3 separate regions of the Homo sapiens genome follow, and all the other regions are linked to region 3. The links are contacts of gene promoters, found by promoter capture Hi-C in human tissues and cell types (Jung and others, 2019). All regions are on one chromosome and are shown on one strand. The core of a region is centred on a gene start or on the middle of the fragment in contact, and the rest is flanking DNA. Distances in the headings are between cores, read along the strand shown. Region 1 overlaps PARD6G (par-6 family cell polarity regulator gamma). Region 2 overlaps SLC66A2 (solute carrier family 66 member 2). Region 3 holds the start of RBFA (ribosome binding factor A).

What was found. The method cuts DNA at HindIII sites, captures the fragments that hold promoters and counts their contacts. A contact is called where the count stands out against the background at its distance.
Region 1: a fragment that was not itself captured here is called in contact with the fragment with the promoter of RBFA in region 3 in 1 of the 25 tissues and cell types used here (lymphoblastoid cells).
Region 2: a contact is called between a fragment that was not itself captured here and the fragment with the promoter of RBFA in region 3, in 1 of the 25 tissues and cell types used here (dorsolateral prefrontal cortex).

Annotation. Positions count from the first base shown.
Region 1 is chr18:80,215,482-80,218,181 of GRCh38, reverse strand. All of the region lies in intron 1 of PARD6G (par-6 family cell polarity regulator gamma), which reads left to right. Among named protein-coding and RNA genes, the nearest start is that of PARD6G, 31 kb to the left of the region's middle. The HindIII fragment of the contact is 7,075 bases long and covers 1-2,700 here.
Region 2 is chr18:79,902,773-79,905,561 of GRCh38, reverse strand. It overlaps SLC66A2 (solute carrier family 66 member 2), which reads left to right. Exons shown (of 6, transcript NM_025078.5): 6 at 1,379-2,789. The coding sequence ends at 1,586. Among named protein-coding and RNA genes, the nearest start is that of SLC66A2, 47 kb to the left of the region's middle. RefSeq lists an enhancer at 760-1,395. The HindIII fragment of the contact is 4,811 bases long and covers 1-2,789 here.
Region 3 is chr18:80,033,144-80,035,871 of GRCh38, reverse strand. It overlaps RBFA (ribosome binding factor A), which reads right to left and starts at 1,438. Exons shown (of 7, transcript NM_024805.3): 1 at 1,219-1,438. The coding sequence starts at 1,376. It also overlaps a transcript of TXNL4A not described here. RefSeq lists silencers at 1,243-1,392, 1,503-1,582, 1,593-1,912, 1,795-1,951, 1,983-2,152. The HindIII fragment of the contact is 12,317 bases long and covers 1-2,728 here.

The sequences.
Region 1 (2,700 bases), core at 5-2,504, 180 kb before region 3:
TGTTGGAAGGGTATGATTGTGTTTAGAAATGTGAGGACATGAGATTTTGGAGGGGCCAGGGTGGAATGATATGGTGTGGCTGTGTCCCCACCCAAATCTCATCTTGAATTGTAGTTCCTATAATCCCCATGTGTCATGAGAGGGATCTGGTGGGAGGTAATTGAATCATAGGAGCAGTTACCTCCATGCTGTTCTTGTGATAGTGAGTGAATTCTCATGAGTTTGATGGTTTTGTAAGGGGCTCCCCGCCGCTTCACTCTGCACTTCTCCTTGCTGCCACCATGTGAAGAAGGATGTGTTTGCTTCCCCTTCCACCATGATTGTAAGTTTCCTGAGGCCTCCCAGCCCTGCAGAACTGTGAGTCAGTAAAACCTCTTTCCTTTTATAAATTACCCAGTCTCAGGTATGTCCTTATAGCAGCATGAGAACGGACTAATACATCTCCTTAGGCTCCTTTTAGCTGTGATAATTTCTCAGACTTCTCTTGTTTTTGGTGACCTTGATAGTTTTGAGGAGTACTCTTCAGACATTTTGTAGAATGTCCCTCAATTGAGATTTGTCTGTTATGTTTCTCATTATTATACTGGGATTATGGGTTTGGGGGAAGAAGAAGACAGTGGTAAAGTGGTATCTTGATCACATCATATCAAGATACATGCTATCAACATTACTTATTATTGTGGATGTTGATCTTGGTTACCTGGCTGAGAGTGTTTGCCCGGTTTCTCCCCTGTAGAGTTACTCTTTCTTCCCCCTTTTTATACTGTAGGTTTTGGAATGAACACATTCCGTGTGCCTTACACATAAGAGGTGGGAAGTTATGCTCTACATCCTTGAGGGTGGTGTATCTATTTGGTAATAAATTATTTGGTATTCTTCTGTATGGTAGACCTGTCTACTCTCCCTCATCTATGTACTCAGTCATTTACATCATTGTGGAGTCATGGATTTTATTTGTACTTTGAATTATAATCTAATACTACTTGCTCAAATTGTTCCAACTTCAGTCACTGGGAGCTTTTTCTGTTGGTTTCTATTTCCCTTTGACATACCCACATGATTATGGGCTTTGTTTTGTTTTGGGGCACTTCTTTACTTTCTGGTATTATAAAATACCCAAGGCACATCATGTATATTTCCTGTACCAGCCCTTCAATCAGTCATTTCTCCAAGGAGTCTTGGTTCCTTGCATGCTAGGTGTGATCATTGCTACTAGAATGTTTATAATCCTTGATTCCTTAAGGCCCATAGCAATGTCCCCTTCACCATTACTGATTTTAGTAGTTTGAATCTTCTCTCATTATTTTCTTGGTTAGTTTACCTAAAGATTTGTCAATATTGTTAGTATTTTCAAATAACCAACTTTTGATTTTGTCACTTTCTCTGTTTTTTGAGTCTTCCGTTTATTTCCACCCTAACCGCTATTATTTTCTACTTTCTGCTTGCTTTAGATTAAGTTTGCATTTCCTTTTTCATTTCTAATGGTGGAAGTTTCGATTATTGAATTGAAATCTTTCTTTTTAAATATAGGTGTTTACAGCTGTACATTTCCTTTTCAACACTGCCTTAGCTGCATCCCATAAATTTTGGTGTGGTGTATTTTCATTTTCATTAATCTCTACATATTTTCTAATTTCCTCTGTGATTTCTTTTTAATTCCATAGGTTATTTAGGGGTATGTTTAATTAGCACTTATTTGTGAATTTCTCACATTTTCTTCTTTTATTGATTTCTAATTTCATTTTCTTGTGGTTGGAAGACATACTTTGTATGATTTCAGTCCTTTTAAGCTTATTGAGACTTGTTTTAGGGCCTAAGTATGGTCTATCCTAGAGAATGTTTCATGTGTACTTGAAGAATATTTATTGTGCAGTTGTTGGGTGCAGTATTATACAGATGTCTTCCAGGTCTAGTTGGTTCATAGTGTTGTTTAAGTCTTCTATTTTTTGTTGATCTTCTGCCTAGTTTTATTCATTATAAAAATTGGGATATTAAAGTCTCCAACATTTATTGTTGAACTGTTCATTTATTGTTGAACTATTTATTTCTCCTTTTAAGTTAGTGTTTGCTTCATTTATTTTGGAGCTCCGTTGTCACATGTATATATGTTTATAATTGTTATGTCTTCCTGATAGATTTACCCTTTTATTATAAAATATCTTTTTCTCTTGCATTAAAGTCTATTTTGTCTGCTGTTTATATAGCCACTTCAGCTGTCTTTTAGGTACTGTTTGCATGGTATATTTATTTCCATCCCCTTTCTTTCAACCTATTTGTTTCCCTGAATGTAAAGCATGTCTCCTCATATAACTGGAGAATGATTGTTGTTTCTATTTGTGTTTTGTGTTTTAATCCATTTTGCCAATCTCTGCCTTTTTCTATTAGAATGTTGAATTCATTTACATTTAATTACTGACATAGTAGGATTTGTGCCTGTCATTTTGCTGTTTATTTTCTGTCTCATCATTTTGCTCTCCATTATTGCTTTCTTTTCTGTTAAATATTTTTACGTACAGTTTTATTTCTTTGTTGTTTCTTTTTACTGTATTTTCTTAGTGATGGCTTTTCAATTAACATTTAATTTCAGTTAACATCTTAATTTAAAACAATCTAGCTCAGATTGATACCAACTTAATTTCAATTATATACAAAAATTTTGCTCCGATATAACTCTATTCCCATCCCTATTATTTGTGGTAT
Region 2 (2,789 bases), core at 72-2,571, 130 kb after region 3:
AGGAAAGGCAGGCGCCTTTGCACCGGGGCTGTGGTCCCAGGCCCGGAGCCCCACCCCAAGTCAGCTGTGCAGCCCTGCCTGGGCCTAAAGCAGGCAGGGGGGAATTCCGAAGCCTGGGCTGACTGCTGGGGTGTGTGAGAGGCCGAGGGGCCTGCACCACCTTCCCCCGGTGCTACCCAGGCACCACCCTGTCTTTTTGTCTGTGGAAGAGACTGGATTTTGTGGAGCTGGAGCTGCATCCAGGGGAGGACACATCCCAGAGAATAAAAAATGGGAGGAAAATGCCCTCTGTGGGTCAGGGCCTTATAATTTAGCTAAACCGACCCAAGTGGAAACAGTCCCAAAGCCTCCTGGTTTTTCCCAGTGGGTGTAATGATAAAGCCGGATTTATGTTCTCAGAGGCCAACAAGATGCTCTAGAGCCGAGCACTGTGGGCTTGGGAGAGAGGAGGGGGTGCAGATGCCGGCTGTCTCCTGCGGGTTCCTAGCTCCAGCCCTGAACACACCCGGCCATGGCTGTGCCTGAAGACTCTCACACAGGGCGGCTACGGCACCCAGGTGCCCACCCTGGCTTATGAGCGGGACGGACGCCCCAGGGTGGGGGAGGGCTGTGTCCTGTCCTTTCTGTCCAGGCAGCGCTCCCCACCCAGGCTCTGCCTCTGGCTTCAGGAGCTGTGGAAGGGTCAGCGGCCGCTGATTTAAACATTTCACACGGGAAAGTGCAGCAGCACTCATGTTCACTGCTAGGCAAGCCAGGGCATGAACACAGCGGTGGGGGAAGCGTGTTCGGACTGGGATGGTGGGTGGCGGCTGCTCCCTGTTCACTCCAGGAAAGGAAGGTTTGCATCTATCACCAGGGAGGGAGGCCGGCAGAGACCCAAAAGCAGCTGCTCTGCTCCACTTGGCTGTGTGCCTGGGGGCACAGATCTGCGTCCTCAGCACCCTCCCAGGCCCGGCCCCTCCCAGAATTGCCACCGCGCACCAGGGGCCCTGACGTCAGCTGCTCGCCCTGCTGTCCCCTGTAGCCTCGAGCTGGTCTCACTGTTCTTGGGCTTGCAGAGCCCCAGCCAGGCGGCAGCTCTTGCGGCCACAGAGAAGTCAAGGGTGGGGGTTGCATGGGACAGGTGGGGTCAGGGTGTGTCCTTTGGCCCCCTGGGGTGTCCCTGACCCCTGGGTCACCCTGTAGACTGGGTGTCCCCTCAACCCCCTGGGTGCCCCCTGAGCCCCAGGCCTCCCCGCCGACTGCCTGGGGGTCCCCTTAGCCCCCTGGGTGCCCCTGAGCCCCAGGTCTCCCCGCTGTCTAAGCCCCAGGCCTCCCCACTGACTGAGCCCAGGTCGCCGCCCTCCCCACCGCTGACCGCCTGCTTGTGTCTCCACAGCATCAAGATGGTGCTCATGTGGACCAGTGGTGACGCCTTCAAGACGGCCTACTTCCTGCTGAAGGGTGCCCCTCTGCAGTTCTCCGTGTGCGGCCTGCTGCAGGTGCTGGTGGACCTGGCCATCCTGGGGCAGGCCTACGCCTTCGCCCGCCACCCCCAGAAGCCGGCGCCCCACGCCGTGCACCCCACTGGCACCAAGGCCCTCTGACAGTGGGGAGGACGAGGATGTGGGACCGCCAGCCGCGGGCACTGGTGGGCCCTGACCTCCCCGCGGGGAGGGTGGGTGCTGTGGCCCCTGCAGGTGTGGCAGAGATGGGGCATGGGCATTGGGGTCTCCATCAGCCTCTGTGGGGTGTCTCAGGGTGGGCAGTGGGGGTGGGGCTGGGACGCTGTTTGTGCTCAGCGGGGACAGCCAGGGTTGATCTGGCCCCGAGGGTTTTGGATGTTTTTAGGATGACATAAAAAGCAAGTGTTTTCCCCATTTCCTCTTATGAAACACCGTCTGAGCCCAAGGTACACATTGGGCGGCCTGCAGGAACCTGCTCCAGGTGGACACACGGGCCAGCAGCCGCGAACCTTGAAGCTGGGGTGACCGCAGGAGACCCTGTAAGGCCTGTGAGCGGAGCCCTCGACCCCGTGACACCCTGGCCAGACACCCTGCTTGGACTGGGGTGGCCTCTGCTACCCAGGGGTCTGGCACGGGGGAGGGCTGGGGCTTTCTCTGCCTGGTACACACGGAAAGGCGGCTGTGCGGACGCAGGGTCACCGTGCTCCGGGTTTTCTGACAGTCGGTGTTTCCTGGGCCTTTGGAGTGGCTGCGAGGCCTGAACGCCTTGTGGATCCGCTGTGTCCAGCCCGGCTGAGCATCGCCAGGGCTAGCTCATGCTGCTCTTGTCAGCCTCTGGTTCTCCTCGAGTCCTTGGGGACGTGGCAGATGCCAGCGACCATCAGACAACGTGGAGGCCCTCATGGGCAATGGCTGAGGGGGCCGGGCTGAGGCTGTGCACATGCAGTCTGCACGCCACTCTTGGGCTCTGCTGGCGGAGATCCCCTTCCTTCTGGGTGCAGACTGCACCTCCGGATGCAGTTTTGATGTCCATCTTCCAGGAGAGACGGTCTCGGGTCCAGGGAGTGGAGGGGGCTGCCCCTGCCGTGCAGGTCCTGGCCGATGGCGCCTTACCCTGCTGCCCTGGGCTTTTGGCCTGAAGCAAATTCCTGAGTGGGGGGTACTGGGGCCTGCCGCATCCTGTCCTGTCCACTGCCCACCCCCGTGTGCTGGCTCCCTCACTTCTGGCTGCAGTGGGAGCCGCCAGTCTGACCCTTGTCACCGCACGCTCTGCCCCCACCCCGTTGCAAGAGGTCACACCATGTCAGCAGCCTTGCACTGACCGCAGCCGGCCCCCAGGCCTCA
Region 3 (2,728 bases), core at 189-2,688:
ACATAGGAGCTTAGTGAGCTCCTAAGGGCCTGAGCTGGAAACATTCGAACAAAACTAAGTAACACGGGATTATAACCCATGAGTTCTTGGTGATATGAATGAATTAATACATGGGGTGAAGAGACATATCCCTTGTGCAGAATGCAAACCACTTATGAGCAAAATTCCCCACTCATTAGGCATGGGCTGCACACAGCGACTTTCTCCCAGAGTACAGTAAGGAAAGGGGGCAAAAAGAGTAACTTTACGGTAGAGAAACCTGGCAAGCACCTCATGCAGGGGATCACGGCCAGCGTGGACCCTGGATACGGTGCGATGAGAATGGCCTTTACCTCTGTAGTCTTCCTCCCCAAAAGCCATAATCCACGTCTAAGCATTAAAAAAACAGGCACATTCCAACAGAGAGGCATCCTGCAAAGCACCTGACCAGTACCCCTCAAAACTGGCACAGCCATCAAAACCAGGGACAGTCTGGGACACTACCCCAGCCTAAGGAAACAAGACAATTCAATGTAACGTGGACCTTGGGTGGGCACCTGGGACAGGAAGGGACAGCAGGCAGAACCAAGGAAAAGTGAATAAAGTATGAGCTTCAGTTAGCAACACTCTTATCAATATCGGCTCATTAACTGGAACACGTTGGAAGCTAAAGTCCGACGCTAACACAGGGGGAGCTGGGTGCCAGGACACAGGAACGCGGTACTATTTTTGCAATTTTTCTGCAGGGTCTAAAACTGTCTTTAAAAGTAGTGTATTAAAGTAGAAAACATACAACCACCTACCATACTTAGAAGAACTAAAAGCAGTGTGAAAAGTCAATGTATTTTATTGTACTTATCTTTCATAATTTAAAAACACTAATTATCATGACAAGCTTTAGTCTTCAAATTCACACAGAAAGTCAACATTAGCAAGGAAATTCTTATATTTTTTCATTTTTCCTCATTTTCTGAAACTAATCTTCTGAAAAATACGTCTGGTGACAAGAATCAAAATAAACACACATTGTCACTTTGTTTTCTTAACCCGACACACGTCCACGAACACAAAAGCTGCAAATGCTGACAGTGAGAGCTAGAACTGCTGCAGACCCCAGGAGGCAGGAACTGGCGAGCTAGGCCGCATGGGCGCAAGAACGCGGATGAGCGGACACCGCAACCCGGGGACACCGCCCCCTAGGGAATACCGCGCCCAGGGACACCGCCCCCGCCGCATTACTTGGTTTTCGAGGCAAATTTCTTGAGCCAGTTCTTGCAGGAGACAGCAGAGCAGTGAAGTCCCCGCTCGCAGCCTGGAAATAGCGCAGCATCGCGGCTACGGAACAGGGCCCGGAGACCCGCGCGGGAGCGCCACAGCCCGCCCGCCGCAGCCCACATGGCGCGGCGCCGGGACCCGGAGCGAGCAGGGAGACAACGGGCGCAGGCGCGGAGCGACAACTGACGCGAGGGTGGCGGCGTGTGGGCGGGGCGACGGCGCAGAGCGGGAGGAAGACTCACGCCTGGCAGGCGGCGTGTGGGCGGGGCGATGATGCAGGGCGGGGCGATGATGCAGGGCGGGGCGAGGACAGACGCGAAGCTGACGGCGTGTGGGCGGGGCCACGGCGCGGGGCGGGACGAAGACGGGGTGCAAGGCGGGCGGGGCAACGACGGCGGAGGGGCGAAGGCCCGAGGGGGGCGGTAGGTGGGCGGGGCGAGGACAGACGCGAAGCTGACGGCGTGTGGACGGGGCGACGGCGAGGGACGGGGCAAAGACTGGACGCAAGAAGGGGCGGGGCGACAACGGCGGAGGGGCGAAGGCGCGAGGCGAACGGCGAGTGGGCGGGGTGAAGACCGACGCGAAGCGGGCGGTGGTTGGGCGGGGCGAAGACTGACGCGAGGCGGGCGGTGAATGGGCGGGGCGAAGACTGGCGCGAGGTGGGCGGTGGGTGGGCAGGGCGAAGACTGAAGCGAGAAGGGCAGCGCGAGGTGGGCGACTACCAGAGCGAAGCGAGCGGCGTGTAAGCGGGGTGAAGACAACGCCAGGTGGGCAGTGTGCGGGCGGGGGGGGCGGCAACGGGGGCGGGGCGAAGGACGACGCGAGGCGGGGCCGGCGGGAGCTGGGCGTGGGGAGGCCGCGTGGGCTGCGCGGAGGGTGTGCCACTCGGGGAAGCGTGGGAACCGCCTGGTTGCCTGGCGCTGCGTAGCTAGGAACACGTTTTGTTTAAATACTGGGAACTGACGTAGGCGGGTGCGCCGCACAAAGCAACGAAGGCATCGAAGCCTGGAGACCTGGGCAGGGCCGCTGTCGGCGGGAGGCTGCGAGGGGTCCGTCTGTTTCCGCCACTGGGCCCTCCAGGGCTTTGCTGCTGCGCCGCCTTCTCCCCGGGCACCTAGAGAAAGTCCCCAGATTGGGCGTCCTCCCCAGAAGTGGTCTCGCCCCGCCCGCCTCCCCAGAGTCAGCGTGGCCCAGCGGGGAAGCTGCTCCCCCCGGGCGTGGAAAGAGAAGTGAGCGCGACCGCAGTGTTGGGGATGCGTGGGCTGTGACTCCCCCGAGGCGGCTGCTGTGGTGTGAGACACGTCTGTGTGTGTGTGTGTGTGTGGGCGCGTGTGGATGTGTACATGTGTATGTGTGCATATGTACGTGTGTGTGCATGTGTGTGGACATGTATATGTGTGCATGTGCGTGCGCGTATATATGTGTGTGTGTATGCGTATGTATGTGTGTATATATTGTCAATCGAAGAAAACGA